Linked DNA regions of Homo sapiens: region 2 is linked to region 1. The links are contacts of gene promoters, found by promoter capture Hi-C in blood cells and fetal thymus (Javierre and others, 2016). All regions are on one chromosome and are shown on one strand. Each heading gives the region's core, a stretch centred on a gene start or on the middle of the fragment in contact. The rest is flanking DNA. Distances are from core to core; before and after follow the strand shown. Region 1 holds the start of OAT (ornithine aminotransferase). Region 2 overlaps UROS (uroporphyrinogen III synthase).

The links. Contacts are between HindIII fragments. The CHiCAGO score rates a contact against its expected background, and 5 or more counts as called.
Region 2: a fragment that was not itself captured here is called in contact with the fragment with the promoter of OAT in region 1 in 1 of 17 cell types (naive CD4 T cells); the score reaches 8.8 in naive CD4 T cells.

The regions. Positions count from the first base shown.
Region 1 is chr10:124,412,529-124,420,468 of GRCh38, reverse strand. It overlaps OAT (ornithine aminotransferase), which reads left to right and starts at 1,546. Exons shown (of 10, transcript NM_000274.4): 1 at 1,546-1,596. RefSeq lists an enhancer at 357-871 and silencers at 845-1,504, 1,447-1,986. The HindIII fragment of the contact is 6,386 bases long and covers 1-2,875 here.
Region 2 is chr10:125,816,925-125,822,836 of GRCh38, reverse strand. All of the region lies in intron 1 of UROS (uroporphyrinogen III synthase), which reads left to right. MIR4484 (microRNA 4484) reads right to left here and starts at 3,097; the gene lies at 3,015-3,097. The HindIII fragment of the contact is 3,485 bases long and covers 1-2,992 here.

The DNA.
Region 1 (7,940 bases), core at 297-2,796:
TGCTCCCCTACCCCGTCTCCACCCTTTTCCACCCTGCTGTTTGTCCCAGGAGGCTGAGCTGTCTTAAAGGGCTCCCCTGGCCTCTGGCCTCCTAATGGCTTCAGCCCATGTGGAAGCCTGACAGGAGATGCTCATTGTCCAGCTCCTTCCCATGCAGTTGCTGATGACTTTGGTGACCAGATAGCCTTTCCCACACTCCTCTCTTTGGGTTCTGGAATTCTGGAAACCCCACTTGGAGGCCGTTGGGCCTAGGATGGATAATGGCCCTCGCTGGTGCATGAGACCCAGGTTATTTCTCCATCCCTTGTGGTTTACTTGCCTACATTGATTGATTGATTGGTTGATTAAGATAGATGGTCTTGCTTTGTTGCCCAGGCTGGAGTGCAGTGGTGCAGTCATAGGTCACTGCAGCCTCAACCTCCTGGGCTCAAGTGATCCTCCCACCTCAGCCTTTGGAGTAGCTGGGAACATAGGTGTGCCACCACACCAGATTAATTTTTATTTTTTTTTGTGGAGACGGGGTCTCACTGTGTCGCCCAGGCTGGTCTGGAACTCCTGGGATCAAGCAATCCTCCTGCCTCGGTCTGCCAAAGTGCTGGGATTACAGGCATGAACCACGGGCCCCCACCACCACGTTTTAGGAAATGTTCACATTGGAGTGTGCCCTCTGTTTCCAGCTGGGCCCCCGACTGGTCATTGTGGTCTAATGGAGTGTGGTGCCGGCAGCTGCCAGCGCCTGCCCTCTGAGAGGGGTGGCGAGGGGCACACAGGACCAGACTGCCCCTACTGTTGGATGACTGGGTAAGTCGCTTTCCTTCTCTGGGTCTCTGTTTTCCAATATTTAACATCTTGTTGTGGGCTAAGTGAAGTCCAAGTCCCTTCCGATTCTAACATGAGGTTGTCCCGGAATATCTATTTTGTGTTCTGAATTTAATAACCGGCTGTGGAGGGCACCACAGGCAAATCTGTACTGTGAGTGGGTTGCTGCCACTCAATTATCTGACAGCAGCTGCGAACAGGTGGGCAGTGTGTTTTCCATAGGCAGCGACGACTTTTGGAGGTGGATTCAGAGGCACAACTAAGCCGCGCGGCGCATCAGGGTTCAAGGGCATGGGGCTCCCGCAGCTGTGGCTGGGGCAGAGCTGGGGCTGGTCCCTCCCTCCAGGAGCACAGGGCGGGCGGTCCAGCCTCACGTCTCTCGGCCTCCAGCCACACCCGGCCCGCGCAGTGGGGGGCCCAACAGACTTTTCCTTTTCGGGCCTCAGTCTTCTCGTCAGCAAGGGCGGACAAGGACTCTTCTCGTCCCGCCAGAGGAGGCGACCGAGGGGCCTGAGCTCAGGTACAGGCCGGCGGGCTCAGGAGGCGCGAGCGCGGATCGAATCCGCGGGAGGAGCAAAGATCCTTGATGCGCGGCCGGAGGGCGGGGCGGAGGACGGGACCCACGCGATTGGTATCCTGCCCTCCGCCCCAGCCAATGAGCGGCGAGGGTGTCTTGGGGGCGGGGCAGAATCAGCCTTTAAGTTGCAGTGACTCTCCGGCGTCACTGTTGCGCTTCATAGACGCCGCGTGTACCCGGTTGTCCTCAGGCGCTGTCAGGTACCGTCTGGGCGCCGCTGTCCTGGGGCTCTGGTTCGGGCCCTGGCCGGGGTTCCCTGACAGCGGCGGGGGAGGCGGGCGGGCGCGGGGTGGCCGCGGCCCGGGTTCGGGGGATGCTGGCTGAGGGGGCGCGCTGGGCCTCGGCCGGGGAACGAGCCCCGCTTCAGCGGCCCGTTTACTCTGCGGGCGGCTCGGACCCGGGCGCCCTGGAGTCTCCGGCCGGCGCGCAGCTTCAGGGGGCAGGGGCGTGGCGACCCACGGCTTGCAGGCCGGAGTCCTGGTTCCAGCCCAGAGCGGCCGACGGGCGGGCGGCAGGGAGAGGCTGAGGATGTGGCAGCCCCGCCTGCCAGACCGGGCGGAGCCGCCGCCCCCTGCGCTCGCGGCCTGTGGAGGCCAGGACTCGGCCCACCCGGCCCAGAGACCCCGAGGCGCCCCGGGGTTCCGGGTAGGAGGCCTTTGGGCACCCTTGGTTCCTGGGGTTGGCGGGGAGGCTGCGTTCTGGGGACGGGGGAGCTGTGCAGTAAACCGGTGGCCCTGGTCACGCGGCGGGGGCGCTGATGCAGCCTTGGAGGGCTGGGTCCTCCCGGCCTGCTCCTGCGCCCTGCAGATCGGCCTGCCCATCGCTCCCCTCTTCCAGCCTATGATTTTTTTTCTCCAGCCTCTGTCGAAATAAAGAAAATTACGGAAGCAGAACCTTCCTTACAGTAACGTGCAGGTTAATTAGATGGTGGGGGATGGGGGGGCAACAGGACTTTCAGCATGAAAACCTCCCGTTGGGGGCTTTTTGCAAACCCTGCTGAGCATCAGTAAATGGGCCTGGCCAGTGCGTTTCCTCGATCGCCTTCCCGGGCGGGACGGGAGGGGTCATTGTCCGCCCTTTGCTGGCGAGAGGACTGAGGCCCGAAGTCACCTGGGCACTCGCCCTGTGACCCACCGTCTCCTTTTGTCACTCTACATCTTACCTTTTCGGTGTTCAGTTTTACCTCTTAGATAAATTACGGTGATAAATTAAGGGCGAACAGACAGTGACTTTGGAATGAAGTGGCTTTACCTTAAGAAATGACTAATGTTCAGTTTCCAAATTCTAAATTTCTCCTTCTGGGATTGAAAGGGTTTCTGTGGATAAGCTAGTTCTTTCAGTTAACCCCGGAACTGTTCTTTAGATTGTAATCAATCGCTCTTAGCCATGTGAAATAACAATAGACTCCTTTCATTAGAATATCCTGGTTCTGTCTTTAGATGAATCTTTTCATAAAAACGAGCGTTAAATTAAAAAGCTTATTTTTAGCCCGGCACGGTGGCTCACACCTGTGTAATCCCAGTATTATGGGAGGCCCAGGCAGGCGGATCACCTGAGGCCAGGAGTTTGAGACTAGCCTGGCCAACATGGTGAAACCCTTTCTCTACTAAAAATACAAAAATTAGCCAGACATCGTGGTGCGCGCCTGTAATCCCAGCTACTCGGGAGGCTGAGGCAGGAGAATTGCTTGAACCCGGGAGGCAGAGCTTGCAGTGAGTTGAGATCGTGCCACTGCACTCCAGCCTGGGCGACAGACTCCGTCTCGAAAAAAAAAAAAAAAAAAAAAAAAGCTTATAGTTTTGGGTTTACAGTTTTTCATGGTGTTTAAGATTAGTTTTGCATCCCCCCCCCAAAGAAAAATCCAGTATAACTTTAAATAGTAAACATTTTTAAAAGACATTTTTCCCTCAAAGCAGCTGTCTTAATATGTATTATCCCCATAGCGTGCCTTTATTACAGTTATTTGTGTGCATATTTTATGCCCTTTAGTGAGTTCTTGAGGACCTTTCAAATCTCAAACATTTACAAATAGTGATGAATGCACGAATTTGGATGTGTGTGGAGGATGTGCTGTAGTTGACCCCGGTCCTTTCTCAGTAGTAAAACTAGTTGTTTGCCAATGATGCACTTGGCTTGAATTTTAGCCAGAATACTGATTACGTCAAAGAGACTTCTGTTGGTAGAACTTTTTTTTTTTTTTTTTTTTAAAGGCCTGTATTTGTGAATGGTTACCTCAGGAAAAGTAAATATTTGTCAAAATAGCAAGAACAAATTTACTCCTCAAGTTGAATATTTTAAGTGGCTTTTGGACAACTTTACGCCGACTATTCTTTTAGAGTAAGAAAATAGTTTTTAAGAGTATAGGCTAAATTAACTTCAAAATGCAGCCTTTTGTGGAAATTCTACTGTAGGTATGTTCTAATGTAGATGGATGGGCTAGATGGAGGGAGTAATGGTAGCCTGAAGGACCCTGTTAATTACGTGGATAAAACCTTCAGTGTTAGAATTCTAGCTTGCCAAGAGCAATTTGTTCTCATTTCCAGGACCTGAGTATGGGCGTCAGGTAGATGCATGATAGCTGCCTGGAACACATTATTTTGACCTTTGAAGGCCATTAGATCTAATGAAGTAAACTCTTGATGAAGAGATGAGTTATTCTAGATGAGGTCAGAGAGTGAACACCCCCTCTTAGAGTTAGACTCAACCTGGTCAGGGATAGGTGATCCCATGGTCTTGATCACTTGCTACCTTGACTCCCTCAGGAGTCCTAAGTAAGACTGACCTCTTTATCTGATAAAGGCCCACAGGATGCCCAACCTGGGCTAGGTTCTAGGAATGCAAAGTGAATTTTACTGTTTTTTAAAGGAGCTTAGAGTATAGACTTATAGGCATAAAAACAAGTGGCCTGCAGTGTTAGGACCCGTTACAAGTCTGCACAGTCCCTGGGAGTCTCTAGGAGGGACTTAAATAGTAAATTCTATAGGGGAGGGTGAAAAAAAGCTAATATGGATGCTAATTATGCATAGAAAAAATAACCAAATGTTAATGGTTATCATGCAAGTGTAAAATTGCTGGTAATTTTCTTGTCTGTGTTTTCTAATTTTTTATCAACTGAAAAATGGTGTGTGTGTGTCTTTTTAAACAGTTTTAAAAATAAATCATGGCACTGTTGATTCTGATATTTCAGAAACTGGCTAGTTTTAAGGGCAAAAGGGAACTGAGTGGCCATTTTGTGCTGGATTTGGCACAGTAACATTAACCCATTTCATCCTCAGTGACACTTCAACCTCCTTTTACAAATGGGGAGACTGAAGCTCAGAAAGATTGACAGAATCACCCAGAGTTACTCTTCAGAACCACAGACAGAATTTAAAATCCCGGTCTCCAAACTCGGGATTTTCCGCTTGATTCTCCCGGTTTTGAAACCTTTTTGGAAGAGGCTGTTATTGATGTTGGCTATTTTTAAGTCCATCTTAATTCTGCTCTAAGATTTCTCATACAGTGCCAAGCACAGTAACTTGAACACAGAAGGTTCTTTAATAGAAATGCGTTTACAGGATTTTGATACATCATGGCTCATCCAGTTTCTGACCTTTCCCAGTTGAATTAAATATCCAGAATTCATCTTAAAAACCTTAAGAATAGCTGACTCAGGGGTGTGTGCCTGTAGTCCCACCTCTTCCTGAGGCTGAGGCAGAAGGATCCCTTGAGCCCAGGTGTTCGAGGCCAACCTGGGCAACATAGCTGAGACTCCATCTGTAAGTGAAAAGAAACAAAAACCTTAAGAATGAGTATTAGTAATGTTTTGAATGATATTATTTTGTCCCCAGTTATTCTTTAATAAAACTGCCTAAACTTAACAGGTAAATGAATTTTTCATCCCATTTCTGTTGGAAATTAGCTGTGCAGATAACTTTTATATAAAATAAGAATGTTGAATTTAGATAATCTCTGATATTCCTTTTTTTTTTTTTTTTTTTTTTTTTTTTTTTTTTTTTAGCGCTTTGTAGCCCAGGCTGGAGTGCTGGTGGCACAGATCGTGGCTCACTGCAGCCCAGAACTCAGGGCTCAAGAGATCTTTCCACCTTAGTCTTAGTCTCCTAAGTACCAGATACTACAGGTACGCATCGCCACACCTGGCTAATATTCATATTTTTTATAGAGATGGGGTCTCCCTATGTTGCCCAGGTTGATCTTTAACTCCTGGGCTCAAGTGATCTGCCTTGGCCTCCCAAAGCGCTGGGATTATAGGCGTGAGCCACCTTGCCTGGCCCTAGAAAGTTGTTACGGTTTAGAGCACCACTAAGTATTGCCTGAGTGTTTTACTGCTAATTTGATAGGCAAAAATTAATGTTCTAATTTTTTAGTTGATCAAACAATTTATTCATACTGAGTAAAGCATAAAGAGTCCAAGAAAGAAATCATACATGAGTGTTTTAGACTTAGCAGTAGTATTTTGGGGAAGTTACATATAGTACAGTTAGACATTTTTGCTAGCAGCTACCTCCAGTTGGATGATTCTTACATCACTTTTGTTTTGATTGTTGGTACCCACCCCTTTGAGATAAAGTCTGATGAAAGTTATGGACCTTCTTCTTGGAAAAATATACGTCTGCATGTAATTCTGCATTTTATTTCAGGAGATTTTGGACTCTCTGCAGACTGTCCCTGGATCTTGGGTTAAAAATCTGTATTCTAGACTGAACCGTGGGAAGAAAAAATAGTCAGTGAGTCTTTGGCAAACCGGAGTACTGGATTTTGTTTAGCAATTGCAAATTCCTGAACATACTGGATTTACTGGGTAGTGCCAAGTTTAAAGGGAAGTAAGCCAAACTCCAAGTATTATGTTTTGCTAATTTGGCAGCTCGAATCAAGAGTGGCTGTGAGATTATACATGGTTTGACTTGTCATTGGTAGACTTCTGTTGAAACATGAATTAACTAGTCTTTTAGAAAGTAAGTATAGATGGAATAAGTATGCCTAGTTTTTGGCAACTTTCTCCTAATCATGAATTTATCTTTAAGCTTTTTTTTTTTTTTTCCTTCCAGAGGTGATTCCTATGCACATGCTCTAATTTCCTTTTAATTATTAGTTTCTTTCATAGCTTAGTTTTTACTTCATGGCTTATCAGGATGCTTAATGGTAAATTGGGTACAAAGAGGTGTGTGAAGCCTTGTGGAGGGGCTAGTTTTAGGGCTGGGGGTGACTGGGGAGAGTAGCTATGGCTCTGACTTATGTGATGGGGCGGCAGGGTAAACACCAGCCTGCTCAGTGATGTTTAGACTTTAACACTCATACAAGTAACGGATTGTAGTTTGTAGTTTGACTCTCTCTAGTTTCTCAGTTACCTTTTGCTAACAATAGCTTTTTCGTTTGTTTGTTTGTTTTTTGAGACGGAGTTTCACTCTTGTTGCTCAGGCTGGAGTGCAATGCGCAGTCTTGGCTCACTGCAGCCTCGTCCTCCCAAGTTCAAGCGATTCTCCTGCCTTAGCCTCCTGAGTCGCTGGGATTACAGGCATGCACCACCACGCCTGGCTAATTTTGTATTTTCAGTAGAGACGGGGTTTCTCCATGTTGGTCAGGCTGGTCTCGAACTCCCGATTCAGGTGATCGCCTGCCTCTGCCACCCAAAGTGCTGGGATTATAGGCATGAGTCACCGCACCTGGTCAACAATATCTTTTATGCTACAATTTTTCAGGATAAGTTTTGTAGAAACAACCATCCTAGCAGAATAGATTGTTTTGTTTGGGAATCTCATATATGTGTGTGTGTGTGTGTGTGTGTGTGTGTGTGTGTGTGTGTGTATGTATTTATGTATGTATGTATATGTTGGTCTAATTCAACTTGCTGTGAACACTTTAAAGCTATTATAAGTTAACATTTTTTTCCTAGTCTTTTTGCCTTTCACCTTTGTTTATGATAAATTTGACCTACAGAAGTTTTAGATATTTGTGGCTAAATAAAAGATTTTAGGCTGGGCACAGTGGCTCACACCTTTAATTCGAAAACTTTGGGAGGCCGTGGTGGGCGGACTGCTTGAGCCCAGAGGGATGGACAGTTCCTCTGTCTCCTGCCCCATGCCTAGTCTCTGGCAGTCTTCTCTGATTTGGTCTCCCTGCCTCTGGTCTCTGCCCTACAGTTGTAGCTGTCTCATAGCATTGTGCCTGATGGTATCGGACTGTGGTAGGTGCTTAACAAATACTTAGTGTTTAGCAGGTACTCAGTCAACACACAGTGCATTAGCTCTGGAAAGAGTCTTACTCTTATTGATTGGTTGGTTGATTGATTGCCTGATTGACAGGGTATCACTCTGTTGCCCAGGCTGGCCTCAAACTCTTGGGCTCAAGTGATCCTCCCGCCTCAGCCTCCTGAGCAGCTGGGGGCTACAGGCACAAACCACCACACCTGACTCAAGATTCTCACTCTTTTTTTTTCTTTTATAGAGACTATGTTGCCTAGGCTGGTCTTTAACTCCTCGGCTCAAGCGATCCTCCCATCTTGGCCTCCCAAGGTGCTGGAATTACAGATGTGAGCTATCACGCC
Region 2 (5,912 bases), core at 1-2,500, 1.4 Mb before region 1:
CGCCGAGCTTCTGGAGCGCATTTCTTGACCTAAAAGTTTTTTTAAAGCCGGCACCGCAGTTAAAAATGCTTCGGCGGGGGGCCGGGCCCGGTGTCTCGCGCCTGTAATCCCAGCACTTAGGGAGGTCAAAGCGGGTGGATCACCAGAGGTCAGGAGTTCGAGACCAGCCTGGCCAACATGGCAAAACCTCATCTCTGCTAAAAGTACAAAAATTAGCCGGGCGTGGTGGCGGACACCTGTAATCCCAGCACTTTGGGAGGCCGAGATGGGTGGATCACTTGAGGTCAGGAGTTCGAGACCAGCCTGCCCAACATGGCGAAATCCCATCTCTACTAAAAATACAAAAACTAGCCAGGTGTGGTGGTGCGCGCCTGTAGTCCCAGCTACTCAGGAGGCTAAGGCAGGAGAATCGCATGCCCCCAGGAGACGGAGGTTGCAGTGAGCCGAGATCGCGCCACCGCACTCCACACTCCAGCCTGGGCGACAGAGGTAGACCCTATCTAAAAAAAAAAAAAAATGCTTCGGGGCCAGTGGGGTAGTCTAGGTTAAAGACCCGAGCCTATTTGGAGAGAAGAGTGGAGGGGACTGCGGCCAACTGCAGAGCGAGCGCCAGCCCCTGTGGCAGGTGGGGATGCAGCCTGGGGCAGCCAGGTCTTCCCATTGCGAGAGAAACAGGGTTCATCAGCTTTCTAGGAATAAGATCTGCGGTTCTCAATTGATTTTTCTCTGTAAAATGAGGGGGGTGGGTTGGATATGTTTGATTCTAGGAATGGTGTGAGCTGCGCTAATAGGCTGCTTCTGTTTAAGCAGGGTAACATCTGATAAATCAGTGATCCTTCATCAGTACGAGATGGCGTGCCCTAAAGGTCCCCAGGAGCCCAGATTGCCCATAATCGTGTTCTGTGATTTCGGTCTTTCCTGGGAGTCTCTTGTCTACCCAGCCATGTCATGGATATTAAAGTAATACTTACACATCAGCGCTCCACATCTGATGGGGCAGCTTGAAATGGCCTCTTTGGGTCGCACAACTGCAAAAACATGTTCCTGTAATGGAGAAGAGAGGAAGCTGTCAAAAAAGACCCATCAAAAGGCTAAGATTAGAAAAAAGACTCAGAAAGACCATGTGAACATATCAACAGAGTTGCACTGAGATACCATAGCCAATTTTTTTTCCTGTTTCTTTATACTTTTTTTATGGTGGTAAAAGATACATAACATACATTTTACCATCTTAACTATTTTTAAAGATACAGTTCAGTGGCATGAAGTGCATTCACATTGTGCAACCATCACCACCACTATCCATTGGCAGAACTCTTTTCATCTAGCAAAATTGAAACTGTAGTTAAACAACTCCCTTATTTTCCCTCCATGACCTTTCTACTTTCCATCTTTATTAATTTGACTATTCTAGAAACCTCATGTAAGTGGAGTAACACAATATTCTTCCTTTTGTGACTATTTCATTCAGCATGATGTCTTCAAAGTTTATCCCATGCTGTAGCATGCATTAGGATTTCCTTCCTTGTTAAGGCTGAATAATACTCCATTGCATGTATAGACCACATTTTGTTTATCTACTTATCTGTCGGTAAACATTTTGGTTACTTCTACATTTTAGCTGTTGTAAATAATGTTGCTATGAACATGAGTATCAAATATCTGTTCGAGTCCCTGCTTTCAATTCTTTGGGGTATATATGTAGCAGGGGAATTGCTAGATCATATGGTAATTCTATGTTTATTTTTTTGAGGAACTATACTTTTTTGTAGTTTGCAAATCTTTCACAGTAAACAGGATCACTTTTGTAAGACAAGTAGGGGAAAAAGCCTTACTTTATGCCCTCAGATTAGTTCCCAGTGTTGAGCTCATGGTCAAAGTGTGAATTAGAATAGTGAATGTGAAAGTAAATACAGTACTGACCCTAGGGAACTGAACTCAGCAGGTAGTAGATTGCTTACCACTCGTTCAGTGTTCATCTTTAGCTCAGAATTTATCTTAATGAGGCAGAGGGATGGTAGCAAGTGGTTAGGAGACTGAGCATGGGCTTCAGACCAGGATCCAAATTCCATCTCTCCCACTTACTGTGCTGTGTGACCTGGGACAAGTTACTCAAACCTCCCAGGGACTTGGTTTCACCTCCTGCAAATAAGGCTAACACCACCTACCTTGCAGGTTTAAGTGAGGATTGCAGTCTTGCATGTAAAATGCTTAGCCCAGTGTGATAGTTACTTTTACATGTCATCTTGACTGGATCACGGATGCCCAGATATCTGGTTAAACATTATTTCTTGGTGTGTCTGTGAAGTTGTTTTCAGAAAAGATGAGCATTTGAATGGATAGACTGAGTAAAGTGGATTGCCCTCCCCAAAGTAGGTGGGCAGCATCCAGTCTGTTGAGGGCCTAAATAGAACAAAAAGCCAAAGAAGGAAGAATGTGTCCTGTCTCCTCCTGCATGCTTGATCTGGGATATCTTCTGCCCTTGGTGCTCCTGGTGCTGAGGCCTTCACACTCAGGCTGGAACCTACACCCTTGGCTCTCAGGCCTTCAGGCTACAACACCAGCCTTCCTGCTAACAAGTCTCCAGCTTGCAGACAGCAGATCATGGGACTTCTCAGCCTCCATAACTGCATGAGCTAATACCTTATAACAAATCCCTTTCTAGATGTAAATATATGCCATTGGTTCTGTTTCTCTGAAGAACTCTAATACACCCAGTAATTAACATGAGTAAATGCTCAGTAAAAGGGTGACTGTTGTTATTGCTGATACCCAGAACACCATGACATAGAAGGTACGGGTTTGAGGTTTGGTTCTTTCTTACCAGTAAGGTGCCCTTATTCCAGTCATTTTTTTTTTCTTTTCTTTTTCATCAATGATTGATGAACATAAGTATGAGGGTAAAATGGCAGAGCAAGCATTAGACTGTAAATCTAGAGACAGGTTGAGCCCTCTTTTTACCAGTGCCGAGGTGAGTTTCATGTTGGAAGCTTCAGGAGCAGCTTCATTTCTGCTGGGGCTTCTCCCGCCTTTTTCCCCCTCAATGGGAAATAACAGGTTTCGTTATTTTCATTGGAAAAAAAGGCAGAGGAAACCCCAGACACTGCACGGTTTTTAGGCCCTAGCCTCACCAGTCTCAAGCCTCCTATCAAGGAGGGCCATATAGTGCCTCTGATCTGCTTGATGCAGACCCTAGGGTCCTTCCCACTCCCATGAGCCACCCACCAGAGTGAGCTAAGAAATCAACTGGCAGAGAGCAGAGTCACGTATGGCCAAGAGGAATTGTTCTGGGGGTTGTTTAGTAAGCAGGAGAGAGGGAGGAGAAGAAAAACTGCACAGGGATCAGATGCCTCCAGCAGAAGAAAGCGAGGCATAGAGATCCCTTACCATCTGAGTCACGTGGCACCAAATATGTTACCAGTGGCAAATCAGTAGACACCTGCAGCAACCTCAATCTTGTCTCCTCAGAAGAAAATTCAACTGGGGGCATAAGGCAGAAAAAGTGACCGAGGCAAGCTTCAGAGCAGGAGTGGAAGTTTATTTTAAAAAACTTTAGGCCGGGTGCAGTGGCTCACACCTGTAATCTCAACACTTTGGGAAGCCAAGGCAGCCGGATCACGAGGTTAAGAGATGGAGACCATCCTGGCCAACATGCTGAAACCCCATCTCTACTAAAATACAAAAATTAGCTGGGCATGGTGGCGCATGCCTGTAGTCCCAGCTACTCAGGAGGCTGAGGCAGGAGAATCGCTTGAACCCGGGAGGCGGAGGTTGCAGTGAGTTGAGATTGCACCACTGCACTCCAGCCTGGGCGACAGAGCAGGACTGCATCTCAAAAAACAACAACAAAAAACTTTAGAACAGGAAAGAAAGTAGAGTATGCTTGGGAGAGACCTAAGCAGGCAACTTGAAGGACAAGTGCTCCATTTTACTTTAAGGAAAATTAATCATTCTTTCTGTTTCAAAGATGCTGGGTAAAATTGAAATTGTTGTTTTCCCACAAGGTGAGCAAATAATGAGCATCTACTACAGGAAAGAAAGTCCATCAAAAAAGCCAACAATGGAGAGGCTCACAGCCCCTTTCCAATGTACAGGAATCTGAAACTGAGACTGAGGCAAGAGCAGCCTAGACCAGAACCCAGACACTGGCCCTCCTGTGCAAACACCCTCTACTCCACCAAGCCTCTTCCTAAAGCCCAAGGTGGCGACATGTTAACCTATCTGTGCACGCTTCTCAATTGATTTCTTTCCCAATCAGCCTGATAATATGTGACTCTAGCACAGCAAAGAATCATCAACAACAGAACCTTTTAATTTTATATTATTATTATTATTATTATTATTTAGACAAGATCCTTCTCTGTCACCCAGGCTGGAGTGCAGTGGCACGATTATAGCCCACAGCAACCTTGAACTCCTGGGCTCAAGTGATTCTCCCACCTCAGCCTCCTGCGTAGTTAGGACTACAGGGATGCGCCACTATGCCCGGCTCCTTGTTAACAACTTTTAAAATTTTTGTAGAAATGGGGTCTCGCTATGTTGTCCAGGCTGATCTTGGACTCCTGCTCTCAAGCAATCCTCCTGCCTCAGCCTGCCAAAGTGCTGAGATTACCAGGCATGAACCACTGTCCTGGCCTAATTTTATATTAGAAATGCTTTCAGTGTTTGGGAATGATTGTATACAGGATTAAAAAAGAAGACAAATGCTTTCAGTGACGTCAGATAAAGGATAAGGGTAGTAGTTGGATTTTTATTTGCAACACATCTCAGGGAGCTCTTTATTATCCAGAAGCCTAAACTTCATGCCAGCATCGGTTTTATTACCTAAGAGAACCACAGATTAGAACCCAGGAGAAATATTTTCTCTGTTTACAATGGGTAGATTGATTTTTCTTTGGGGTGTTTGCATAACTAAACTAAGCACTTTGTACTACAGTGATACTTTATATTTTTATACCTCTATTTTTCCCAAACATTTTCGTATTCAAAGTGTATGTGAGGCATAATATAGCGTAGGGGGTTAAAAGCACAGACTTTGGAGCCAGACTGGTTGGGTGTGAATCCCAGCTCTGCCACGTAGCAATTCTGAGACTTTGGATGAGTGTCATCCTCTGTACACCTCAGCTTCTTCCTAAGCCTCGTAGGTGGACTTAATGCATGTGAAGCTCTTAGAATAGTGCCTGGGAGGCAGTAAGTTCAATAGATCTGTTCGCTGTTTTTATCTTCTTTGAGTCACTCAGCAACCCTAAGGCTTGGTAGGGCAGAGGTTATTCCCATTTAACATGGGAAAAAACAAGATCACACCATGGTTAAGTCATAAAGCTGAGACCAGAGCTCAGGTCCGTTGGCCCTTAGTCCTGTGCTTATTCTGTGACACCATACTTCCTTCCTTATATTATCACCTTAGAGAAGGGAGAAGGTAAAAGGGCAAGCAGAAATGAGGAAAAGAGAGGAGAAATACATCTATAAGGCTGGGTGCAGTGGCTCACTCCTGTAATCCCAGCATTTTGGGAGGCCGAGGCAGGTAGATCACCTGAGCTCAGGAGTTCGAGACTAGCCTGGGCAACATGGTGAAACCCTGCCTCTAAAAAAAAAAAAAAAAAAAAAAAAAATACATCTATAAACAAGAAGCTTCCCGTTGCTATTAAGATAAGAGCCACATTCCCTAATATGACCCAACGAGACCCAAAAGAATTCTAGTGTGAGCATCTTTATGTTAATCTTTGGACACATTTATCAGTATTGCTTTAGTATTCTTAGAAGTGAAATTACAGGAAGAAAGAAGATGAAGTATATAAAGCTTTTGATGTCAACAAATCGTTTTCCATGTTGTTAGACTCTCTTATGATACTTGACGTTTAGAAAACATCATTTAATAAGTAGAAGAGTCAATATAATTATTTCCCAAAGTG